Linked DNA regions of Homo sapiens: regions 2 and 3 are each linked to region 1. Evidence: promoter capture Hi-C in 16 types of primary human blood cells and fetal thymus (Javierre and others, 2016). All regions are on one chromosome and are shown on one strand. Each heading gives the region's core, a stretch centred on a gene start or on the middle of the fragment in contact. The rest is flanking DNA. Distances are from core to core; before and after follow the strand shown. Region 1 holds the start of BLNK (B cell linker). Region 2 overlaps CC2D2B (coiled-coil and C2 domain containing 2B). Region 3 overlaps CC2D2B (coiled-coil and C2 domain containing 2B).

What was found. Contacts are between HindIII fragments. The CHiCAGO score rates a contact against its expected background, and 5 or more counts as called.
Region 2: a fragment that was not itself captured here is called in contact with the fragment with the promoter of BLNK in region 1 in 1 of 17 cell types (endothelial precursors); the score reaches 5.7 in endothelial precursors.
Region 3: a fragment that was not itself captured here is called in contact with the fragment with the promoter of BLNK in region 1 in 1 of 17 cell types (endothelial precursors); the score reaches 5.0 in endothelial precursors.

What each region holds. Positions count from the first base shown.
Region 1 is chr10:96,269,511-96,274,418 of GRCh38, reverse strand. It overlaps BLNK (B cell linker), which reads left to right and starts at 2,850. Exons shown (of 17, transcript NM_013314.4): 1 at 2,850-3,067. The coding sequence starts at 3,021. RefSeq lists enhancers at 970-1,029, 1,160-1,209, 1,696-1,795, 3,905-3,954, 3,985-4,104. The HindIII fragment of the contact is 529 bases long and covers 2,503-3,031 here.
Region 2 is chr10:95,969,981-95,974,888 of GRCh38, reverse strand. CC2D2B (coiled-coil and C2 domain containing 2B) reads right to left here. Exons shown (of 35, transcript NM_001349008.3): 16 at 2,673-2,823; 17 at 733-880. The region is part of intron 2 of ENTPD1-AS1 (ENTPD1 antisense RNA 1); the gene reads left to right. Among named protein-coding and RNA genes, the nearest start is that of CC2D2B, 64 kb to the right of the region's middle. The HindIII fragment of the contact is 1,129 bases long and covers 1,671-2,799 here.
Region 3 is chr10:95,997,238-96,002,145 of GRCh38, reverse strand. All of the region lies in intron 24 of CC2D2B (coiled-coil and C2 domain containing 2B), which reads right to left. All of the region lies in intron 2 of ENTPD1-AS1 (ENTPD1 antisense RNA 1), which reads left to right. It also overlaps the pseudogene RPL21P90. Among named protein-coding and RNA genes, the nearest start is that of CCNJ, 44 kb to the left of the region's middle. The HindIII fragment of the contact is 7,823 bases long and covers 1-4,908 here.

The DNA of each region.
Region 1 (4,908 bases), core at 1,601-4,100:
TTTAAGGTTGGGATTGTCAATTTCTCATCTGTGAATCTAGTGATTCATTAATTTCCATGTCCACTGTGCTATGTAGACCGACCTTAAAGGCTTATCATGGTATATCGTTCTGTGTGCGCTGTGGAACCACGTTGTGTGGTTTCATTCCTTTTATAAGTTACCAACTAAGGCTTGGTATCATCAGTTTCCATCTTTGCATTAACCTTTTTGGTAATCCAGTTATGGGGCCTGTCATTTGTATTTTGACTTTCATTTATGGTGCATTTGTCACATAAAAGTTTAAATTTATATGTATCTAGATTTACCACTGTTTTTCCTTTTTGTGTTTTGCTTAAAAAGGTTTTCCCCGGCCAGGTGTGGTGGCTCACATCTGTAATCCCAGCACTTTGGGAGGCCGAGGCGGGCGGATCACGAGGTCAGGAGATCGAGACCATCCTGGCTAACACGGTGAAACCTTGTCTCTACTAAAAAATACAAAAAATTAGCCAGGCATGGTGGCGGGTGCCTGTAGTCCCAGCTACTCAGGAAGCTGAGGCAGGAGAATGGTGTGAACTCAGGAGGCGGAGCTTGCAGTGAGTCAAGATCGTGCCACTGCACTCCAGCCTGGGTGACAGCAAGACTCCGTCTCAAAAAAAAAAAAAAAAAAAAAAAAAAAAAACAGGTTTTCCCCACTTCAAAATTAGAGTCAAATAATTTAAAATTTTCATTTAGTCATGGAGCAACTTAGAAGCCAAAGCAGTTGTGGCAGGCCTGGAACATTAGGCTGTCACACTGTATTTCACATGGGGTAAAATGTCCAGTCTGGAAACACAGTCTCTCATTTTCATCATGTTAGACTAAATACAGTAAAAAGAAGAAAGACCAGTGGCTGTAAAAAGAAAAAGCAGAAGTGTAACCTTTGCCTCTGGTCTTTTTCTCTGGGGAAATATGAAGTTGTCAGCCAGGTGTTGAGCAAAGTTGTTGGTGGAGAGAAAAGTCAAGTGACTTATGGGGTGCATTTTACAATAATTCAGAAAGAACGAGCTGACTATTATCATTTCATTCAGTGAAGCCTGAATTTCCTGATCTTTGATGACATTGTATGTGCCTTTACCATCCTAGTCTACTTGTTTCTTTCAGTTAGGAACTATGGGAGAGGAGGAGGCAGGGTCTAGAGCTCCTTCAGGATGCACTGCAAGAAAATTGAGCAGCCAGATTGGGGAAAATGAATGATGGCAGGAGACAAGCACTTGCATTTTTCTCATGCAACATTGTCTGCTCTCTTGCTGGCCTGGCCAAGTCAGTGTCCTGGCCAAGCAGAAGGGCCCCACCCTTCAACAGCTCTGAAGATTCTGCTCCTAAACATCTGGTCAAACCAGAAATTCATAGGCAGTGATGAATGTGAATAATCAAGGTTACCTGGAAAAAGACAGAACATCCATTTGTGCAAAGAAGAGGCACAGGAGGGAAGAAATCCATCCACGGTTTCCACCTCTACCACTGCCGCTGTTCCTTCTCCCCCTCCTCCTCTGTCTCCTCCTCCTCCGCTTCTTCTTCCTCCTCCTCCTCCGCTTCTTCCTCCTCCTCCTCCTCCTCTTCCTCCACCTCCTTCTCCTCTTCTGTCTTCTCCTCTTTCCCCACTGTCTTCAGCCAGATCTTGGGTCTGCAACAGGAGAGGTAACTGAGAGCTCTTTACTTTGTCCTGCTGTGTATTCTGACCCAGGAGAAGACTGGTTCCCTTGATAAATGTTGGAAACGTGTACTTTATTCCACAAGGGTGAGCAGGGCATTCTCAATGGCTGCAGAAAAGTGTGTCCAGGTACAAAAGGTCACTTCCCTCCCATTTTCTTCCTCCTTGACCCTGGACTGCGGGCTGCTCTTTAAACAACAGGTAAATCAGCATTTTTCAGATTAGGCAGAAGGAAATATAAAGTCTTCCAGGAGGGAAGTAGAGTTCTCTGAATAGGTTCAGCCCCTACAGGTATGGCTCCCTCCTCCCAGCCTCACCCCACCTGTCTGACCTTGAGATGGCCTCGTGTCTGGCGTGTCACTGGGTGTGATGAGCAAGTGGTGGACAGGACAGAAAGAGGCAAATGCAAGGAGGGGAATGGCATTCTGCTTTTAGGACTTCAGAATGGCCTGATGTAGGAATTGCATTGTTGTGAAACTGTTAGATTTGTTCTCATCTGACTTTTGGGTACATCCTGGTTTGTTTGAAAGCATCTGGCTATCGGCGAGGTAACTCCTGACTCTATCAGGCAATAAGGAGGCTGCACATCTGACGATAGAGTTCATCTCCCCTTTCCTGAGTCATCCATCCCTACCCCCAGATGAACAGAGAATTGCCCATCCCATTTTAAATAGAGCTCCAGAAAAAGAGATACTCTAATTCTCTGAGTAAACTGTTACCACCATGCCACTGACAACCTGATATTTATTTTTAAACGTATTGCCCGCATCGGGGGGTAGGAAAAAGCACAAAAATGCCATTTTTATATAATGGTTCTATAAGTAGAAAAAGCTTATCCATAACTTTATGCAAATAAGCAGAAAGTCTCCAAGAGAGGTTCAGATGGACTTGATTACTCTGCTTTTCCTTGAGCCCAGGAAGTTCCCAGTTATAGCATGCACCTGCTGGAAACAGACTATATGTGTTTGGGACAAACAGGAAGTAGTGACCAGCCAGAAACTTGTCCTAACCTGGTTACAAATCTGATTGTAAAAGAAAGCAGCTGGAAAGAAATTTGCCTGCCCAATAGGTTTCATTATTAAAGTTTACACAAAGTGGAGTAATCACCAAGCTGGCTGGCTATCCAGATCACATGATTATGTAGAAACATGAAACTTGACTATGTGCTCGGGCAAGTTTTACTTCTCCCTAGAGCAGGGGTGTTTGCCAGCAGCCTGCACTCTCAGAAATCAGACTTGAGTGGCCGGAACCCTTGAGACCAGAGGCTTACCATGCTGCTCCCTAGGAGGGCCAGGAACTGCTGACGTGACCACTGGACAGTTATTCGTGTCTCTTACAATTACCAAACAGAATGGACAAGCTTAATAAAATAACCGTCCCCGCCAGTCAGAAGTTGAGGTAAGATTTTCCCCACCCAATACCCTTCTTCATCTCCTTTTTTTCCCCCCAGTGCTCTTATGGCATCTCAGAAATACTGAAATCCTGGAATGCTTTGCTAGTTTCCAGTGGGTGGCACTTACTATAGGGAAGTGGACTGAGCTTTTAGGGAAAGCATTGGGTGGCACTTGCTATAGGGAAGTGAACTGAGTTCTTAAAGAAATGTGTAGGAACAAGAGAGACTTGCTTTAGCTGCCTCTTACAATAAAGTGTAAAGCTCTGGAAAGATAATAAAACAAATGCCAAGGGCTTAGATTCTACTGAAGGTCAACTTTTAGAATCTGAATGCAACCAACTTTTCTAAGGAAGGGTTTCTCTAAACTGAGTCCTCACCCATTTTATTGCAGGTTACTATTTAATTTTAAGGATAGCTGTAATCATTTGTTATTCATTGTTTTATTGTCTCATTTATTTTGTGGGTGTATATGACAAGTGTGTTTGGGGGGATTAGATCTGTCTTTCCAATGCCCTCATGTCAATGTAACAATATCCATAACAAGCCTCTCAAAAAGAATAAACCAGAAGCGGCCCCATGGGCGTGAGTCAAGGAGCTATGGAAAAGACAACTTCCCCAAATTTTGCTTTTGAAGGTCTTCTTTTTGTCTCATTGTAATGGCATCATGGCTTTCAGAGACTGGAACTTTTAAAGTTCTGGGAGTGCAGTTTTTTTTTCACATTTTTTAACAGTTTTTTTTTTTTATTATACTTTTAAGTTCTGGGGTACATGTGCAGAAGGTGCAGGTTTGTTACATAGGTATACACATCCCATGGTGGTTTGCTGCACCCATCGACCTGTCATCTACATTAGGTATTTCTCCTAATTCTCTCCCTCCCCTAGTCCCCCACCTTGACAGGCCCCGGTGTGTGATGTTCCCCTCTGTTCAGGGAGTGTTTTCTATTCTGACTACATATTAGAACTTAGCCAAATGTTCAGGGGGTGATGTGACACATGTAGCAGACAAGTAATCACAGATAACAATGAGCCAGAGAATTGAAGCTTTTGAGACAATATTTAAGAGAAAGTCTGGATTGGCAGAGGGACAACCCTTCACAGTAGAATACAGGTCTTATGCCTAGGAGGTGCTTGGTAAAAGGTAATGTGAAATGCATCAATGATCTGGGATCAGTAGGCAACATCAGCTGTGTTCAACCATTTCAAGAACATGCTGTTGAGTGCTGCTGTGTGATCAGCACTGACGGGACAAGAAGGCACCTCATTCTTGCCCTTGGTCTCAAATAGCTACACCCTCATGAGGGGCGGGGGTGATACAATGGAAGCTGTAAGCGACAGAAGGAATGTAAGAAGAGACTTAGAGTAGCAGGAGGAGGTTTCATAGAGAAGATACTTTTAAGAGGTAGGCTTTGAGAGGTGGGTAAAATTATAAAATACTGGAGAATTGGAGGAAACATGTTATGTGCTGGGAGGGAGGAAATACAGAGGCTGTCACTCAAAGCTTAACACAAGTACGGTCCATTTGTGGGATAGTGAGGAGAGTTTTCTGTCCAGCAGAAACTAAAGAGTAGGGAATGTGGGACCTGAAGGTCCTGGTATGATTGGACAAATAAGGTGGGTCCAGGTTGCAAAGGATGGTGAGTGCCCTGACCATAGGGAGTTGGAGAACAGGTTATGCTGTTAGCTGTTAGCAATGTCATGACAGTAGGCTTAAAGGAGCCTGGTAGGATGCGTTGGAGTGGGAGGGACACTGGAGGCAGGGATCTGGTGGGAGGGAGGAGCGCTTAAGTAACCCAAGCATCCAGGGTTGTAGGCCTGGACTTGGGACATGGCAGTGAGAAGGAAGAGG
Region 2 (4,908 bases), core at 986-3,485, 300 kb after region 1:
TCACTACTCTAAAAATCCCGTGTGCTCCAACTATTCATTCTTATCTCCCCCTAGAACCTCTGGCAACCACTGATCTTTCTACTGTCTCCACAGTTTTGCCCTTTCTAGAATGCCATAAGTTATATGAAGCTTTTCATTTCCGTTTATTTTTAAAAATATGTGTTAAGATGTGGAGGGGAGAGGATATCTTTTTGTTATCATTGTTCATTATTTTAAATGATGAAATAAACTTTTTCCTTTATATTTACCATTTCCCTCAAACATAGCACATTATGGAAGCCAGCATTATCATCATTTTCATAGAATTTACTGTACTTATTTCTAGTAATCCCACAAATAATTAATCTGAAAATTAACCCCAACCCTTCTGGGAACTCCCAGAATGATGATAATGCATAAATGATTCTTTGCTAATCCAGAATGACTGGGAGATATACAGGCCCCAGAAATAAAGTCCCTGGGAGTCTTGACCTTTGCCTACAAGTGAGGGACTCTGGGAATGCCTCTCTCATCATCTGTGTGGCTATAATTCCAAGCACTGAAGGGACACATTCTCTTACATATAAATACACATACTGCCTTAGTAGAGTGATTTAAATAAAAGATAAATCAACATTCAAATAGACTAAACTCTTCCTATTGCTGCTCAAGTTTTCTCTTTTACACATAATATGTTTTGTGTGATGCTTTGCTGAGACCTGGCATTATTTTTCAAAGATAAAAGTTTATTACCTGCAGTAAGAAGATCTTAATGATTGTGGCATAGGTATCAGAGGAAGACCATTTTCATCTAAGCTCCATGATAGAGAATAGCTAAGTTTTCCTGATGTCAAAAGACAGAGTTCTTCAGTTCCATTTCCCTCAAGAAGAAAAGGCACATCTGTTTATAAAAGGCATTAAAAACATATGAATTGTTTTAAGTGCAGTTGAAGCACATTGTGGGTTTTTTCCTGAGTTTTACTTGTGGAACTCTAGGAACACAAAGGAAGATCTGTGCTAACCCCACTCTTTTTTTTTTTTTTTTTTTGAGACAGAGTTTTGCTCTTGATGCCCAGGCTGGAGTAAAGTGGGGCAATCTCAGCTCCCTGCAACCTCCACCTCCTGGGTTCAAATGATTCTCCTGCCTCAGGCTCCCAAGTAGCTGGGATTACAGGTGTCAACCACCATGCCTGGCTAATTTTTTGTATTTTTTAGTAGAGATGGGGTTTTACCATGTTGGCCAGGCTGGTCTCGAACTCCTGACCTGAGGTGATCCACCTGCCTGGGCCTCCCAAAGTGCTAGGATTACAGGTGTGAGCCACCACGCCCGGCCCTAACTCCACTCTTATCTTAGTGCTCTCCCTCATCTCCTCTCTAAGATCCTTCAAGGACTACAAAAGAGAAGGTAAAGATTGAGATGAATATGTAGAGATGAATATCATGATTTTCTTCCTTTCATGCCTGGAGGCTTCTTAACCATTCTCTGTGGGAGTGGCTTCCAGCAAGAAAGGACCATTGGCAGCAGAAAAAGAGGCCAGCAAGCTGTTCTTTCTCCTCTTTCCTTACATTCCCAAGTCTTCTGCATCTAATCTCCAAAGAGTTTAACAATACTTCTTAAAACTTTTGCTGAGTGCACAGTGTTCCCTAAATTTTTTGAGTCCTGAGTCTTTTGTCCCGGGTCTCCATAAGCTTATTTTTCTGCTTCATCTGGACTTGAAGCAAACTCCGTTCTTCCCTCGTTCTCTGCCCATTTCCCCCCGCCCCCTCCTCCTTGCTCACTTGTTCATACTTCCTTACTTTTCACCAAATAGGCCCAAGTAGTTTCCAAACCCCTAGGAAGGTGAAAGAAAGGAATAATGGGGAGAAGGAGAGGAATGACAGTGATCTCAGAGACGCACTAACTTACATTTAACCGTATAAGAGGAGTAAAATCAATTGAAAAACAACTAACAGAAACATCCCTTCTTTCTTCTCTCCTTTTCTCTGTCCCTCCCTCTTTCCTTCCCTCCCTCATTTTCTTCTTCCCTTCCCTATACAGTTCAAAGACAAACCCATATGTCTGCGAGCACCTGTAGGTTCACTAAAGGAGAGGTCGAGGCAGAGCAGCCAGCCCACTCAAAAGCAGAGCTTGCTTTCCAGACAGCATTCTGTCCTTGCCTTGGATGGCCTGCAAAAAGCGTGGGTGCTAACTGCTCATTTGAAATTTCCCAAAAATCTGACCCAAGACAAAACTTTAAACAATCTAGTTTAACATCTGAATGAATAATTTAATTCATTTTTAACAGAATAAACACAGGGCCAGGTGCGGTGGCTCACGCCTGTAATCCCAGCACTTTGGGAGGCTGAGGGGGGCGGATCACCTGAGATCAGGAGTTTGAGACCAGCCTGGTTAAAATGGTGAAACCCTGTCTCTACTAAAAATACAAAAATTAGATGGGCGTGGTGGCAGGGATCTGTAATCCCAGCTACTGGAGGCACGAGAATTGCTTGAACCTGGGAGGTGGAGGTTGCAGTGAGCTGAGATCGAGCCACTGCACTTCATCCTGGGTGAGATTCTGTCTCAAACAAACAAACAAACAAAAAAGAATATTGTAAATACAGGATTTTGTACTTATGTGAGTGAGCCAGGGTCACTTAGGAATATGGTACTCAGGAAGAAAATAGGGGGAATGTAATATTTTTAATAAACTCACTGCTTCCTACTTCTCCATCGGCAGGCATGACCAGCTTATCAGAGCTAAACTCTACATATTGCAAAGCGGTTTTGCCTTTCAGCTCTGTGTAGTTAGGTAAAGGTATATATAGTTTTGCCAGTAAGCTTGTCCTTTTACTTTTTTCATAAACCTAAATATAAAAGAAATGGCTGATAGATCACTAAAAATACAACACAGAAAAAGGAAAAAATAAGCACCCTTAACAACATATATTTTTTTAAATACCAGAATATAAAATAAGTATTGCTCTATAGCATTTCATCCACATGATTATGAGAAAAGCAGCCAGTCATGTCCTTGAAAGTGTAATGCCTTTTACTGGCTCCATAGAAAATGAATTGAATACAAGGGATTATGAATACAGTTCTGAGAATAAATATATGAGGTACATATAACATAATATCATAGCAATTTTGAGTAGCACTTTAAAAATTCTTTATCTCATGTAAATCTGATAAAAATTATAGGAAATAAATATTATTCTCATTTTATAAGTGAGGAAATGGAAGCTGTATATGAAAATATGTTTGTTTTTATTATAAGTGGTTGAGACTCAGGTTGAATTGCTTAGGAAAAAGGTAGTGATTGGTCATGAAATTCAAGGATGAGTTAAACAAGCTATGGGAGTGGTGAGGGAGGAAAAGCTCCAGAAGAAAGGAAAAGGGGGTGCTGAGTAGACAGTCCCATAGAGGTTCACTGGGCATGAAACCCAGGTCTTCTAATTCTATATGGTGTGTTTTTTACTACAATTCCATATAAGTTTACTGCCATAACTATAACTTTTTTCTTTCTTTTTTTTTTTTTTTTGAGGTTGAGTCTTGCTCTGTTGCCCAGGCTGGATTGTAGTGGTGCAATCACTGCTCACTGCAACCTCCGCCTCCTGGGTTCAAGCAATTCTCCTGCCTCAGCCTCCCAAGTACCAGGGATTACAGGTGCCCACCACCACACCTGGCTAATTTTTGTATTTTTAGTAGAGACGGGATTTCATCATTTTGGCCGGGCTGAACTCGAACTCCTGACCTCAGGTGATCTGCCTGCCTTGGCCTCCCAAAGTGCTAGGATTACAGGTGTGAGCCACTGCACCCAGTCTAAGCAAACTTTTTTCAATAAAAAATCTTATTTTGACTTATACTGTGTTGTCAGTGCTTGGGAAAACAGTGATATGAGCTCTAAGAAGGAAATCAGAGGGGAAAATTGCTCCTTGAAAGATAAGAAAGAATGTGCCAATCAAAGTGATGACTTATTAGCCAAGAAAGCAAAGAAAAAGGAAAGTCAAAGAGGCACATATTTTTTCTAGTTATCTGGTTTTACTTCCTTGTAAGAGAGAATTTAAGACACCACACTGGTCCCTTTGACAAAGGCATCCCTACTGCAGAAAGGTTTGTAGGAGTTGTAGCTCTGTGAAATAACTTTCTTATTGTAAATCAGTAAATGGGTTAACTTTCAGAGAACATGAACTGATAAATATATTCAAATGTTGAGTTGGCATTTACACTTCAGCCTTGTGAATTTGCTTAGGGTATGTAGGATGGATTCTCAGTGGACTGTCAAACCCAGGTTCTTGGACTACAGGCTGGAGGCCAGCCCCTGGACAGCAAGGTAAGTGTACTGAGATAGAGAATTTTATCAGTTGAGGGTTCCTAGGAGCCAGTCTTGTCCCCTGACAACTGTCAACACCATGATGCGATGAGATTGAGCATCTTAAAAGTGGTCAGAATGAAAATGGGCGTTTTTAAACGGAGCAGCTAACATGTACAAAAGCTTAGAGGTAGGAAATTACAAGCACGTGTGGGAAAAGACAAGCAGCTCAGTTTGGCTGAAGTGATGAATGAATAAGGAGGAGTAGTAAGAAATGAACTAAAGGCGGGGCATGTTGGTTCATGCCTGCAATCCCAGCACTTTGGGAGGCTGAGGCAGGCAGATCACTTGAGGTCAGGAGTTCGAGACCAGCCTGGCCGACATGGTGAAATCCTGTCTCTACTAAAGACACAAAAATTAGCGGGGCATGGTGGTGGGCATCTGTATCCCAGCTACTTGGCAGGCTGAGGAAGGAGAATTGGTTGAACCCAGGAAGTGGAGGTTGTGGTGGCTGGGATCACACCACTGCACTCCAGCCTGGGCAACAGGGTGAGACTTCATCTTAGAAAAAAAAAAAAAAAGAATTAAAAATGTAGGTTAAAGTCTGTTAGGCTAGGGCATATCGATTTATTTTGCA
Region 3 (4,908 bases), core at 629-3,128, 270 kb after region 1:
ACTTATAAGTTTATGTATCTTATTGACTGTTTTATGTTCTCCTAAATTTATTTAATACAGTATATTTCTTCTAACTCTAATGTCTACATTAATATTCCAAATATTTGCAAACACACATGACCACACATTTTACATTTACAAACTTTTCAAACAAATACATTTTATATGTTAATTATTTAACTTGATATTATACAATATTATATAACAGATTTCCCTTTAAGTCAATAATTTCCTTCACACACAAAGAATAAATAGTTCAAGAAAGCAAGTGTCAGAAAACAAGGCAAAGTGAGAGGTACAAGATTCAGACAGGCAGCCAAATAACAAGAATATCTGTTTAGGAACTCTGGCCAATGACTCTGAAAATATAATTGAGCCTATGTTGAATCTGGAAGAACAAATTTGATTTCTGCTAATAGCAGAAGTTCCATAGTATCTAAGCTAACAAAATTCTAAGGTGTGCTTCCTTATAGTTCCCCTACCCCTAATTTGAAATAATGGCATAAACAGGGTCTCCCTTTCCTTGCAAATCCTGTTTAGGATCTGAAGCCTTTCACTTTCAGAAGGGGTGGCTGGGATGTGAATGTTTATATAGCCTCCAAGATGTCATCACATATATGCAAGTGATTATATCGGTTCTTCTGAGTTCCTTTAGCCTTTGTTAGTGGGGTTATATATTAACATAGGCTTCAGATAAAGCATAGAAATCCTATAAAATCATATAAACGATGAAAACATGAAATATAAAATATTCGTAGGAAATTATAGAAAATAAATTATAAAAAAATATAAAATGATGGCTAATCCACGACAATCCTGCTCTATGTGTATGAATAAGAAGTAAATTTTCCCACCTTTCAAAATAAAAAGAAACATATTATTTGAAAAAATGTTTAGATGTTTAATAGCTACACATACCTGCTCATGAGAGAAATTTATACCCAGCAGTAAAGCATAGCAATACTAAAGGAAGTGGCAATGGAATTAGATCCATTTTACTGGGTCTGTGTGTGTGTGTATGTGTGTGTCCCTAAACACCACATAAAGGATTATTCTAGTCTATATCTGTTTTATTCCTTCTTGGTAGCAAGCAGGAACATAGGTGTATATTTCTTTTTGGATTTAAAAATCTGATTTATTAACTATTTTAACTAAAAATACTTTTATATACAGGAATGTTATTGAAAAAGATATCCTCACTCATTCTTCAGAAAATGCGATGGTCTAAAATTTTAATGCAAGTTGACATATGTTCTAAAGTAAGGAAAGTAAAGGAAGACCACTATTTATTAAAGAAGATTTTTTTAAAAGGACATACCATAAAGGAAAGGACTGGTACAGTTTAAAACTTCTTTTCATCAAAATGCATCATAAAGAAAATGAAAAGTCAAGCCATTAGGGAAAGATAGTTTTAACACATATAACTCACAAAGGGCTGGTATCCATAATATATAGAGAATTGCTTTAAAAAAAATAAAGACAGGCCGGGCACGGTGGCTCACACCTGTAATCCCAGCACTTTGGGAGGCCGAGGCGGGAGGATCATGAGGTCAGGAGATCAATACCATCCTGACTAACATGGTGAAACCCTGTCTCTATCAAAAATACAAATAAATTAGCTGGGCGTGGTGGCAGGCACCTGTAGTCCCAGCTACTCGGGAGGCTGAGGCAGGAGAATGGTTCGAACCTGGGAGGCAGAGCTTGCAGTGAGCCCAGATCGCGCCACTGCACTCCAGCCTGGGCGACAGAGCAAGACTCCGCCTCAAAGATAAATATATAAATACATTTTATTTATTTATTTATTTATTTATTATAAATAAATAAAGACAGACGAAACAATAGAAAAATAGAGAAAAGTATCCTTTCGGCTGGAGCAGCCATCTTCCAGTAATTCGCCAAAATGATGAACGCAAAGGAAAAGAAGAAAGGCACCTGATGTATGTTCTCTAGGCCTTTTAGAAAACATGGAGTTGTTCCTTTGGCCATGTATATGCGAATCTATAAGAAAGGTGATATTGTAGACATCAAGAGAATGGATATTGTTTAAAAAGGAATGCCCACAGGTGTTACCACGGCAAAACTGGAAGAGTCTACAATGTTACCCAACATGCTGTTGGCATTGTTGTAAACAAAGAAGGGCAAGATTCTTGCCAAGAGAATTAATGTGTGTATTGAGCACATAAGTGCTCTAAGAGCTGAGATAGCTTCCCGAAACACGTGAAGGAAAATGATCAGAAAAAGAAGCCAGAGAGAAAGGTACCTGGGTTCAACTGAAGTGCCAGCCTGCTTCACCCAGAGAAGCACCCTTTGTGAGACCCAATGGGAAGGAGCCTGAGCTGCTGGAACCTACTCCCTATAAAGTCATGGCATAATTGGTGTTAAAAAAAAAAAAAAAAAAAAGACCTCTGGACTGTAAAAATGTTTCTCTTCATTGAGAAGAAGTGTGGTGTCCTCTCTCTCAAATAAATATTTAAAGCAAATTTTAATTGTGTCCTAATGCATTATATAATGTCTTTACTAGTCAAATTTAATGTATTTCTTGCTTAGATGTGAGGTGGCTTATTGTGCAACAAATTACTCAATTGGTTAGAAAACAGTCAGATATTATTTATGAAATATTTGTACTGGTTTGAAGATAGTCCCTCTAAATCATCATGGAAGAAATAAAATAATTTCCAAAAAGAAAAAAAAAAGAAAAACAGACAAAAGTAATGAAAGGTCATTTCACAGAAAAGAAAATACCAATGACCAATGAACCTATGGAAAGAAGCTCAATGTGGATAAATAAGTAAACTGTGATACATCCATATAATAGAATATTATGCAGGGGTAAAAAGAAGTAAGCAATCAAGCTATAAAAAGACATGGAGAAAACTTGACAGGCATGTTTTTCATGGAAGAAAGCCAATCTGAAATGGCTCCATACTGTATGATTCCAACTATATGACTATGATGGCTAATTTTATGTGTCAACTGGGCTGAGACACAGTTTCTAGATATTTGGTCAAACATTATTCTAGATGTTTCTCTGAAGGTTTTTTTGTTTGTTTTTTGTTTTTTTCTTTGAGACGGAGTCTCCTTCTGTCGCCCAGGCTGGAGTGCAGTGGCGCGATCTCTGTTCACTGCAACCTCCTCCTCCTGAGTTCAAGCGATTCTCCTGCCTCAGCCTCCCAAGTAGCTGGGATTACAGGCATCCACCAGCACAGCTCACCATCTTGGCCAGGCTGGTCTCAAACTCTTGACCTCTAGTGATCCACCCGCCTCGACCTCCCAAAGTGCTGGGATTACAGATGTGAGCCACTGCACCTGGCCTCTGAAGGTATTTTTTAGGTACAGTTTAAGCCAGTTGACTTTGAGTAAAGCAGATAACCCTCCATAATAAGGGTGGACCTTATCCAATCAGTTGAAGGCCTTAATAGACAAAAGACTGACCTCCCCTGTGGAAGAGGGAATTCTGCCAGCAGATTTCCTTCAGACTTAAACTGCAACTCTTTCCCAAGTCTCCAGCTTGCCATCCTACCCTGCACATTGTGGACTTGCCAGCCTCCACAATCATGTGATCCAATTCCTTAAAATAAATTTCTCTCTCTCTCTCTCTGTCTACATCCTATTGTTTCTGTTTCTCTGGAGAACCTTGATGTACACAATGACATTCTTTAAAAGGCAAAACTGTGAAGGCAGTAAAAAGATCAGTGGTTGGCAAGGTTCCAGGGGGAGGGAGGGATGAATAGACAGAGCACACAGGATGTTTAGGGGAGTGTAACCATTCTGTGTGATACTATAATGGTAGATACATGTCACTGTACATTTGTCAAAACCTATAGAATGTACAACACCAAGAGTAAACCCTAACGTTAAATATGGACTATGGTTGATAGTGATGTATCAATGTTGGCTCATTGATTGTAACAAATATCACACAATGCAGATGTTGATGCTGAGGGAGCTGTGTGTGTGCTGTGGTGAGGGCATTTGTGGGAACTCTGTACTTCCCATCCAATTTTCTTGTGAGCCTAAAATTGCTCTAAAAATAAAGTCTCTTAATTTAAAAAAAATTGAAAAAAAAACTGCCTCTTTAAAAAGAAATTATAAATTAAACCACAATGAGAATATAATTTTAGATCCACCATATTGAGAAAAATAATTTTTAAAACACAAAATATTATGAAGACATGGCACAAAAGGAAATTGTATATACTGCTGTTGGGAGTGTATATTGATATAATCACTTTAGAAAAGAGTTTGCATTGTCCAGTAAAGTTGAAGCTGACTTCAGCTACAACCTAGCAATTCCACTTTTGAACACATATCCTAGAAAACAGGTTCTCAAAGTGTCACCTGACTAGTAGCATTAGAACCACTGGGAACTTGCTAAAGATGGAATTATCAGACCCTACCCCAGACCTACTGAATTAGAAACTACAGAAGTGGGCTTACCAATCTGTGTTTTAAGAAGCAGGCCAGGTGTGGTGGCTCATGCCTGTAATCCCAGCACTCTGGGAGGCCAGGCAGGAGGATCATTTGAGCCCAGGAGTTTGACACCAGCCTGGGCAACATAGTGAGACCCTAGTGCTACAAAAATAAAAATAAATTAGCTGGGTGTGGTGGTACACTCCTGTAGTCTCGGCTACTTGGGAGGCTGAGGCAGGAGAATCACTTAAGCCCAGGAGTTTGAGGCAGTGAGCTATGATTATACAACTGCACTTCAGCCTGGGCAACAGAGTGAGATCCTGTCCTAATTAAAAAAAAAAGCTGTCTAGATGATTTGAATGCATAAAAAGGTCTGAGAGCCACTGTCTTAAAAAGAAACTCTTGCACATGTGCTCCAGAGGACAAGTACAAGAATGTTCAAAGCAATATTGCTTGTAATGGCAAAAATTAGAAAAAAGACCAATGTTCATCAACAGA